2 separate regions of the Homo sapiens genome follow, and region 1 is linked to region 2. The links are contacts of gene promoters, found by promoter capture Hi-C in blood cells and fetal thymus (Javierre and others, 2016). All regions are on one chromosome and are shown on one strand. The core of a region is centred on a gene start or on the middle of the fragment in contact, and the rest is flanking DNA. Distances in the headings are between cores, read along the strand shown. Region 1 holds the start of TCOF1 (treacle ribosome biogenesis factor 1). Region 2 holds the start of TNIP1 (TNFAIP3 interacting protein 1).

Region 1 (4,840 bases), core at 1,517-4,016, 720 kb after region 2:
CGAATCACAGCCCAGACACCTGAGGCATCCAGGTGGCATGACCACAGTCTACTAGTCTGCTGGGAGAAGACTGGGCCCAAATGGTACCAGTCCCTTGGTGGAAGCAGAGGGAACCAGGTGGAATCCAGGCCTTTGGAGCAGAGGCCAGAGGGCCCAATGTCTCTGTAAATGTCAATAAGCCAGGATATCAAGTACTCTAATGAGGCTAAGCAATGTGGGGCACGGGTGGACTGAACTAATCTCGTCACGTCTTCGAACTTCAGATTTCTTCTTAACATGGGGACAACAGCGATACCTACCTTGCAGGCTGCTATCTGGTTTGAACAAGACCATCTGTCAGTGCCCAGCAGTGAGCCGGTAACACTAAGATTTCAAGAGTCAGTTTCCCTCTGCTCCACCTCAGGCAAAGTGTCCTCCTTGCTGTCCTCAAATGTGTCAGGCCACCCTGCCTCTAACGCGGCCTTGCTATTCTTCTTGTCTGGAATGTTCTCTCCCCTGTTAACTACACAGCTCACTCCCTCATTTCCTTCAGGTCTCTGCCCAAATGACACCTTCTCAATGAGACTTCCTTGACTACCCTACTTATAATCGAAGTCTGACATCCCTTATCCCCCTTGCCTGCCTTTTATAGCAAGCACCAACTATCATTGGATATACTATATCATTAACTTATTAAACTTTTTCTATTTGTCACCTGTCTGCTCCTACTAGAATGTGTGCTCCATGACGGCAGGATATTTTGCTCCAATGAAGATGGGTACTATCTCTTGCTCCCCTTATCTGTGAAGTACCATAGCTGCGGTAGGAAGAGCAAGTGAGGTTCAGAGAAACTGGGAAAAGCATACATAACGTCTTAGGGCCCATCACCCTTTAGTCCCTCCAGGAGGTTCTGAGAGCAAGCATTAGGAGCAGAGCCTACACCACAGGGCAAAGGGATCTGACTACTTAGGATACTGTCTCACCAGTTCAAAACTCTCCATTGGTTTACCACTGCTCTTCCAAGGAAGATCAAACTGCCCACCAGACCACTCCAGCCAGCCCCTGCCTCCATCTCCCCAGGGGCATCTGGCCCTTGTACTTCACACTTCAGCCACTATGGACGTTTTTTTTTTTTTTGAGATGGAGTCTCGCCTTGTCACCCAGGATGGAGTGCAGTGGCTCAGTCTCAGCTCAGTGCAACCTCTGCCTCCTGGGTTCAAGTGATTCTCCTGACTCAGCCTCCCGAGTAACTGGGACTACAGGTGCATGCCACCATGCATGGCTAATTTTTGCATTTTTAGTAGAGACAGGGTTTCACCATGTCGGTCAGGCTGGTTTTGAACTCCTGGCCTCAAGTGATCCGCCTGCCTCGGCCTCCCAAAGTGCTGGGATTACAGGCGTGAGCTACCGTACCTGGCCTGCTATGGACTTAAAAAAAATTTTTTTTTGAGACAGTGTCTTGCTCTGTTGCCCAGGCTGGAGTGCAGTGGCATGATCATGGCTCATACTGTATCCTCAAATTCCTGGGCTCAAGAGAGTGGACTTTCTCCAGGCCAGTGTGTACACAAGTTCCCTCCCACCACAAGGCATTTACACCTCAGCTATTCCTGACCAGGGCAATCTGCCATCCATCTCTCTTTTTTTTTTGAGGCAGAGTCTCGCTTTATCGCCCAGGCTGGAGTGCAGTGGCACGATCTTGACTCATTGCAACCTCTGCCTCCCGGGTTCAAGCAATTCTTGTGCCTCAGCCACATGAGTAGCCAGGATTACAGGCGTGCGCCAACATGCCCAGCTAATTTTTGTATTTTTAGTAGAAACGGTGTTTCACCATGTTGGCCAGGCTGGTCTCGAACTTCTGACCTCAGGTGATCCGCTAGTCTCGGCCTCCCTAAGTGCTGGGATTACAGGCGTGAGCTACCGTGCCCGGCCCATCCCTCTCATTCTTAACACTTATTGCGGTGCTAAGCATATAGTCACTTTTGTGATTCTTTGATTTGTCTACCTTACTAGAGTGTAAGCTCCAGGAGGGCTGAGAGATGGTGCTCACCATTCGAACACCAGGAAGCACCCTGAGTACCGGATTAACAGTTGAATTAATCAAGTAAGAAATGACTGTACCACGAGTTCGAGTACCAAAGCTGACCGTCTCAGTACAGACAATCGCTAAAGGCCTGAGTTCCAGCTCAACTAAGAGGCTGTAGGGTCCCTTTTCCAGGCGCTCCCCCGAGGGGCTGGTCGCAATCCACCCCCGAGACTCGCAGCAACCTCCTTGCCCCAGGGGGGGCCGCGCAGAGCCTAGCCACGTGGCGGGAGACTTAGGAAACTTAAAATACCCGCTACCAGGAAGGGCGTGGAGGTAAGGGAAGCGGGAATTACAAAGTTCGGCCCCTGCGAGCACACTTTCTGGCCCAACCCACTGCCCGGATGAGGAAAGTGAGGCCCAGGGGAACTGAAGTCGCAGTGGGAAGGCAGAGATTGCGGCTCCTCCGGTACCCCTGGCCGCGCCGTCGAGCACTGCGGGACCCGGCTCCGGGCGCCTGCCGGGTCGCCTGGGGACGGGGCGCGGGCCGCGGGCCGCTGATCTCCACATCTTGCACGCGGCCCTCGCACACGGCCCACGAACGCTTACCTGGCCGCTCTGCTCCTTCACTTCCCGCGCCGCACGCACATAGCCAGCCCGCAGCAGATGGTGGTAGATCAGGGGAAGTAGCTCCCGCCGCTTCCTGGCCTCGGCCATACCCGCGACCCCCGGCCGGCCGGCTACCTGCACGCCCCGCCTTAGTCCCCGCCCGCCACTTCCCTCGCGCCCTTAGACCTCGCGCGCCACACTTCCGGCTCCTCTTTCGCTCCGGCCGCGCGGCGCGCCGGGAAACGTAGTCCCCTCTCCGGGAGTGGCCGGCCCCGCCCCTCAAGGCGAAGGGGGCGGAGACTCGTGATCAACAATACCGCCCATTGGCGCGGAGCATGCGGGGCTAGACAGGGACCCGCCCCCGGGGCCGGCCGGGACTTGGACGACTCTCTTTTAATCCTTCCGGCTGGCTTCTTGAAGAGATTTATCTTCCTTGTTAATTCTCTGATGGCTGGGTCTGCGTTTTACTCATCTCTGAACTCCCTAATCTGGATCTTTCTCTAGATCCGAACTTTGTACTGCCATTACCTGCTCATTTATCCATTTCGCACGGTTTTTGGTGCCCATGAACCAGACACGAATTGCCAGTTTATTCATTGATTCATTCGCTAACTGAACAAATCTGTAATAAGCACCTAACTTGGGCTAGCACCCGGCTAGGCTAGGGGGATTCAAAAGATGCATAATACATGGCAGTTGCCCTCAAAGCTCACAGAGACGACTGTCCGTAACCAAGCAACTATAGTTCAATATCTTGTGTGCCTTGTCAGGGACAGATGCAGCCTATGGGCGCCCCAAGGAGGAGCACCGAACCCCAGAGAGATATCTAAGCTGAGGCATAAAGACACCCGAAATTGCTGGGTGCAAAGGAGAGGACTGGCAGAGGGCACTGCATGAGTCTAGGCATGAGAAAACACCCTGCTATTGCCTGGGAACCCTAAACCCAGAACCCCTAGTCTGCGCTGCTGGGCTGTCCAGGTGGGGTGGGGTGAGGTGGGGAAGAGGGAACAAATGAGGGCACATGAGGATGAAGAAGTAGACAAGGCCTACAACTCCCCCACCCCCAACAGAGTTTGGACTTTGCTCTGAGGGCATTAGATAGTCTCTGACTGGCTTTTCCGAGGAGGTTGACCCTGTTTTGTGTTTTTAAAAGATTGCTAAAACCAAAGCACATACCATTAATACTAAATGTGAGGCTGTTGTAGTTGTTGAGGGAAGGATGGCAGGGAAAAGGTGAGGTAGGCTGGAGAATGTTAGAGTGAGCTGTTCTTAACTTCACCGACCCATTGAGAATCTGAGGGCAGCATGTTTCTTACGGGCGCAGGAGTCCCTAACCCTAGGAGGTCCAGGTATGTGGTTATCTTTGTCTTGAACTTGAATGGAAAATGTTATGTGTCTGTACACATTCAACATTTCCCATTTTCTTGAGCAAATATTTATTGAGTACCTACCATTGGGGATGGAATAGTCTCTACTCCTATAGAGCTTACAGTCTAGTGATGGAATTGTCTCTACTCCAATAGAGCTTACAGTCTAACGGAGGAGACACATACTAAACTAATAGTCATACAATACAGTGTTACAAACAGCGGGTAAGTGCAGGAAGGAAAAGGATAGTGTTTTCTTATGTAATAATATAGTGTTTAAAAGCTGCACTGGAGTCACACTGCCTGGGTTCAAATTCTGGCTTTGCCTCATTAACTAGGTGACTTTGGGCAAGTCACTGTGACTCAGTTTCTTTATCTGTACAATGGAGATAATTATAATTTCTACCTCACTGGGTTGTCATAAGGAGTAAATGAATTCTCAGCAGAAATGCTTAGAGGAGCTCTGAACAATAGCGCTCTCTGTGTGCGTGTGTGCTATTATTGTGAAAGCATATAACAGGAAGGAGGGATCTATTTTTTTCTTGGGAGTTAGGGAAGGATTCCCTGAGAAATTAATGGTTATGAGGAAACCAGAACTGTGTGTAAGGGAGAGTCAGAGAGAAGAAACCTGAGCAGAGGGAAGAACCTGTGCAAAGGGCCTAGGGCAGAAGGTACAGCTGAGAGAATAGACACAAAAAGGCCTTTGTAGCATAGTCCGGAGGGAGAGCAGGGGGACTGGGGAGTGTAGAAGGTGGGCAGAGGGCAGACTCCATGTGAAGGATTGGCCACATCAGGGTTTTTTTTCCTCCATCCTAAGAGCCATTGGAAGCCACTGACGGTGTAAGCCCAAGAGGTACAGGATGAA
Region 2 (4,944 bases), core at 1,406-3,905:
CCTTTTCTAGACAGAGGACTCAGTTTACCTATCTGTCAAATAGGGGTTTGTTATCTATGGGCTCCATGGTCTCTAACAGGGTGGAATGTCCTGAAGACAAACCAAGACTTCAAAGAATGGAAGAGGTGGGGGCAGTCACGACTTTATAAATAAATGAGTTTTCTCACAAATTGGAACTGTTAAGAAAAAGGATCCAGAACTAGGAAATCAGACAAAAAGATGACTGAGTGCCATTTTTTTATGTCAAGCTTGAGAATTCCCAGCGGACACTTTGAGAAATGAAACTGTCTGCCCGGCTAAGGCCAGACATGCTATAAAAACAGCTGAAATAGTGTGGAAACAAAATGCAAGTAATTAGAGACCAGCCATTTTTAGGTAGATTTTAGTTTTCAGTGGGTAGAGGGTGGGGGTGGAGAAGATGTGGGTTGGGAATAGGAAGAGAGCCCTGCAGGAAGAGAATTGGGAAGTACAGGCACAAAGAGCAGGAAGAAAACTGGCAGGTGCGGACCTGATGGGTGGAGACGATGCCTGGGAGCTGCTATGTAAACCAGGGCCAGGATTCCCAGTTTCTCTGTAGGATCCCCCAGTGGTGAGACTCAGTGGTGCTTTGGAGTTTGCATCGCTTCCTCCCTCCCTCCCTTCTGAATCAAGGCATAAGTGTAATTCTTTTCATAATTAAACTAGAATGAATATCGTTTTGAAGATCTGATAACACCGTTGAATTAACTGAAGGAACCCTAGGAGGTTACAAAGCCTTATAGGAGAATCCCCAGATTAGGTATATAATTTGGGCAAGTATCTGTGTGTGTATTATTGCGAAGTCACAGTTGATTGATGGGTCTCTCTTCTGTAAAATGAGGGTGTGTATTAAACAGTTCCCCAAATCCTTTCCCCTAATTCTTTTTGAGGATGAGGGCCTGTCAATGACTAAGTTTTCAACAGTACCAGTGAAATGGGTCTTTTGCAATAGGTTTTTCATAAAGCTATATTTAGTTTAAAGAGCTGTTCTTTATTCCAAGGTTAGACCTTCCACTTTTTGGAATTAAAATTTAGCTTTCTTTCTTTTTAAAAATAAAAGGATAAGCTTTTAAAAAGCTTTCCTACCCTTAAAGCAAGTTTATGTTCCTTACCGGTCTAGGAAATCCCAGTCTGTTGGGATTATCTAGCCCACATATAAGTAGGTAGGGTGGAAGGCGGCCTCTGGATTTGCCCACCCGGGTTTGAATCTTGATTCAGCCCCTTACTGAGGTCATCTAACCTTTTTGTGACTCAAATATTATTTAAGAAAAGGTAGTAAAACCCACCTCCCTAGCGTGATTGTGCGAAGAAAATAATGCACGCAAAGCATCTACAATGTCTGGAGCAAAGCGTTTACGATGTCTGGGAATCCTTTACAATGTCTGGAGCAAAAAATGTTCGCGGTAGAGTCTTTATGGGTCTTTTCAGCTCGGAATTTCTATAGCTTTGTTAAGAAGAGTCCTGGAGTGCCCTGGACGGAACTCTGGGGGCCTGAGCTCCAGCTCTGGCTTAGGGCCAAATGCTTACGTGCCTTTTGGCAGGTCCCCTCCCTGTTCTGGCCTGTGTTCCCCTCGGCACAAGGAAGGGGCTGGGTGGTCTCTGTGGCTCGCCTCCGCTCTGAAATTCCGGCTTTCAAGGTGGCCCCAGGCCTTCGACAGGGGCTTCCGGCGCTGGGAGTGCGGCAAGGCGCCGCGCAGGCCCGGGACGGTGGCCCCAGGGAAGTCGCTCCTAGAGGGGAAGGCCGCCGAAGGGACGAGAGACACCGCGGGCCCCCGGAACCGCAGGCAGCCGGTGTTTACCTCGCTCGGTCCCACCCCAGGCGGCCGCGGGCCCGCCCGGAGCGCGCGGCGCGATTGGGCGAGTGGCCTGCCAGTCTCCGGGGACTTTCCCAGGGGTGGGGCGGCCCGGCCAGGCCCCCGGCACTTCCTCGTCCTCGGCCCGGGTGCCCTGCCCCCGTCCAGGAGCCCTAGGAGTGCTACGGGGGGCCGGAGCCTTGCCCGGGCCGCTGCCCCGTCCCTGGATTCGGGGCTGGACGCAGCAAGCGGGGCGCTGTGTCCCCAAGCTCCCCGTCCTCGGGTAAGCCGGCCGGCCCGGAGCGGGGATGGAGGGGAGGAAGGGAGGCCAGGCCCAGATCGTCCAGAGCCTCGGTGGCGGCGGGGAGCGAGCTGGGGAAGGTGGCTTGTGCACCCAGGCCCGGCGCGCGGGGTCCCGGGGCGTCTCCGCCAGCGGCCAAGCCGGGCTGAGCCGCTACTCCCTGCTTGGCGCTGGGCCTGGTGGGGGGCGCGCGTGCGCACTGCGCGGGGTAGCACGCCTGGGAACGGCGTGGGGCGGTTGTAGAGAGCGCAGACCCTCCGGGTGCGGGCGGCGCTGCGGCCCTTTGGGTGTCTATCCTGTGGAGACGAGTTGCCTACGCGGCGTCAGGAGTTTTCGTATCAAGTTGTGGAAGCAGTGTACATATGTCACGAGGAGGAAAATAATAATTTTTATTGGGCGCTTTCCAAGTGCTGATCTTAACGCTGTACGTGTATTAGACTCATTTAATTGTCACTTCCATCCTAAACATTAATATTGTTATTATCTCCATTTTATACTTTAGGAAACCGAGGTACTTGGAGCTTGAGGTCACACAGCTGTGAGTTGCAAAGTCAGATATGAACTCAGGCATTTGGCTCCAGAGTTCCTACTATACTATTTCTGTTGAACATATTTTGTATGCACATTGTTGGAGGCATTTGTGTGCATGTGCAGGATGGATGAGTTTCCAGGAGTGCTTCTGGGGATGGAGTATGAAGGCTGAGCTTTCCACTGTAGGACATTTGTGTGCACGTGTGCATTGTACATTCATTGTGCGTACAGGAGCAGATGGGAATTTTGTGCGACTGGGTGAGAGATTGTGTTTTGGTAGGGGGAGGGAGGGACTTTTGTGGATGATGCAGAAGAATCAGCAACGTCCTTCCCCACCCCCTTGCAGAATGACAGTGCAGGGAAATGTGTAGATTCCTAATGCATCATTTTTTTCTCACAGTACGGTCAAAATGGGATTTAATCAGCACTTACTCATTTTCCAAACAATGGGGTGTGATAGAGGGGAATTCGGCATCTGATGAGAGGTCAGAAAAGGGGACTCAGAATGTTTTAAAAAAATCCTTGACAAAGGAGGGTAGAATTGTATTAGGAGGGTAGAATATTAGTACAAACTCAGCATCCCCGTGGTGGTCTCTGTTTTGCAACAGAAGAAACTGAGGCAGTGAAAAAACTGATAATGCTAATAGCTTACTATGTGCCAGGCACAGTGCTTACATTCCGTATCTCATTTAATCTTTTTTTTTTTTTTGAGACAGAGTCTCACTCTGTTACCCAGGCTGGAGTGCAGTGGCACGATCTCGGCTCACGGCAACTTGCCTCCCAGGTTCAAGCGATTCTCCTACCTCAGCCTCCCGAGTAGCTGGGATTACAGGCACTCGCCACCATCCCCGGCTAATTTTTTTGTATTTTGAGTAGAGACAGTTTCACCATGTTGGCCAGGCTGGTCTCAAACTCCTGACCTCAAGTGATCCGCCCGTCTCAGCCTCCTAAAGTGCTGGGATCACAGGTGTGAGCCGCCCCGCCCGGCCTCACTTAATCTTTCTAACAACTCTTAATTTTCAGATGAGGAAACTGAGGCCCAGAGAAGGTTAAGGCTTTCCCAAGACTAGCAACGCTTGAATCCTGGACCCTGTTCCCTTTCCCCTGACCAAGGCTGCTGTCCTGGCTGTGTCCCGGGAAAATAATGTGATCAGGGACTGGCACTTCATGGAAGCACGTGATCATGCCCCTCTGGAAGCTGCCGCTGGGAGTGTGCAGTGTTCTACACGCTTATGTAACCACGTTTGTCTCCCAGCCTTGGGTGTTCCATGGGTATGGCATGGCACTCATGCTGAAGGTTGATGCCTGCCCCTGGATACCCCCACCAGTTTTTTCGGGGCCCCAGGAAGCTGTGGGGTCTGAGTCATACCCTTACCCCCAGTGCTGCCTGTGACTTGGGGCCCGGATGTCCTGGTTGGGTCAGGCCGACCTGATTTGAGAGAGGCAGCGTTGTAGGAGGTTGTTTGTCTGCCTCTCTCTCCAACCCACTGGTTACTGTTTTACTCCTGTACCCGCTGTGATTTGGTCACACCATGCTGGCCTGCTTTTCCCCCTCCAGCAAGCCAAGCTTGTTCTCATCCTTAGGCTTTCATACATGCTGTTCCCTCTGCCCAGGACATCTTTCCCCGTTTTTCCCATGGCTGGTTTTTCCTTATCGATCAAGTCTCAGCTCAAATGTCAGCTCCTCAGAGGGGCCTTCCCTGATCTTTTTATGCAAAGCAGCCCCTTTTTTCACTTTCTGTCACGTTACTATTTTATTTTTCTCATACGTGTATCATGCTATGAAAGAATCTTATTTGCGAATGAGAAAGCATATGTATAGAACTTAGTGTCTGGCAAATTGTTATTTTTAGTGTTTATTTGTTTACTGTCTTTCTCTTTTCCTAGAATAGAAGGGGGTGAGCAGGGACCTCCTTAGTCCTCTCGAGTGTATTTCTGTAGCGGGAGAAGAGTGCCTGGTGGATGGCTCTTCTGAGTTTGTTCAGTGAATGAGTAGAATAATGGCACATTTCACAAATGAGGAAATTAAGGCCTAGAGATGAGAAGGCAGGAGGAGAACCAGAGTGCTCTCCTAGCGCTCTCCCAAGCATCATTTCCTGATGACTCCTGTGCCCAGTGCCATGCAGTGTTCTTGATGCACAGGTGCGTAAGGAGCTGGCTTTGCCTTCCAGGAACTTTTGGTCAAATGGGGAGATGTGCTATGAGTGTGACCTGAAAGGCATTGTGTGCCAGTAAGTGCCAAATGAGTCGGATTGGCATAGGTATAACTGGAGTGCAGAGTAATTTGGGGGCACCAGATGG

What was found. Contacts are between HindIII fragments. The CHiCAGO score rates a contact against its expected background, and 5 or more counts as called.
Region 1: the fragment with the promoter of TCOF1 here is called in contact with a fragment that was not itself captured in region 2 in 1 of 17 cell types (naive CD8 T cells); the score reaches 5.2 in naive CD8 T cells.

Annotation. Positions count from the first base shown.
Region 1 is chr5:150,355,623-150,360,462 of GRCh38, reverse strand. It overlaps TCOF1 (treacle ribosome biogenesis factor 1), which reads right to left and starts at 2,766. Exons shown (of 27, transcript NM_001371623.1): 1 at 2,609-2,766. The coding sequence starts at 2,716. It overlaps LOC105378226 (a long non-coding RNA gene), which reads left to right and starts at 3,043. Exons shown (of 4, transcript XR_944407.3): 1 at 3,043-3,957; 2 at 4,793-4,840. RefSeq lists silencers at 2,339-2,558, 2,639-2,978 and an enhancer at 3,579-3,748. The HindIII fragment of the contact is 5,465 bases long and covers 1-4,840 here.
Region 2 is chr5:151,078,030-151,082,973 of GRCh38, reverse strand. It overlaps TNIP1 (TNFAIP3 interacting protein 1), which reads left to right and starts at 1,940. Exons shown (of 18, transcript NM_006058.5): 1 at 1,940-2,094. RefSeq lists enhancers at 1,346-1,405, 1,120-1,830, cis regulatory regions at 1,371-2,140, 1,640-2,428 and silencers at 1,706-2,375, 4,061-4,110. The HindIII fragment of the contact is 3,115 bases long and covers 1,098-4,212 here.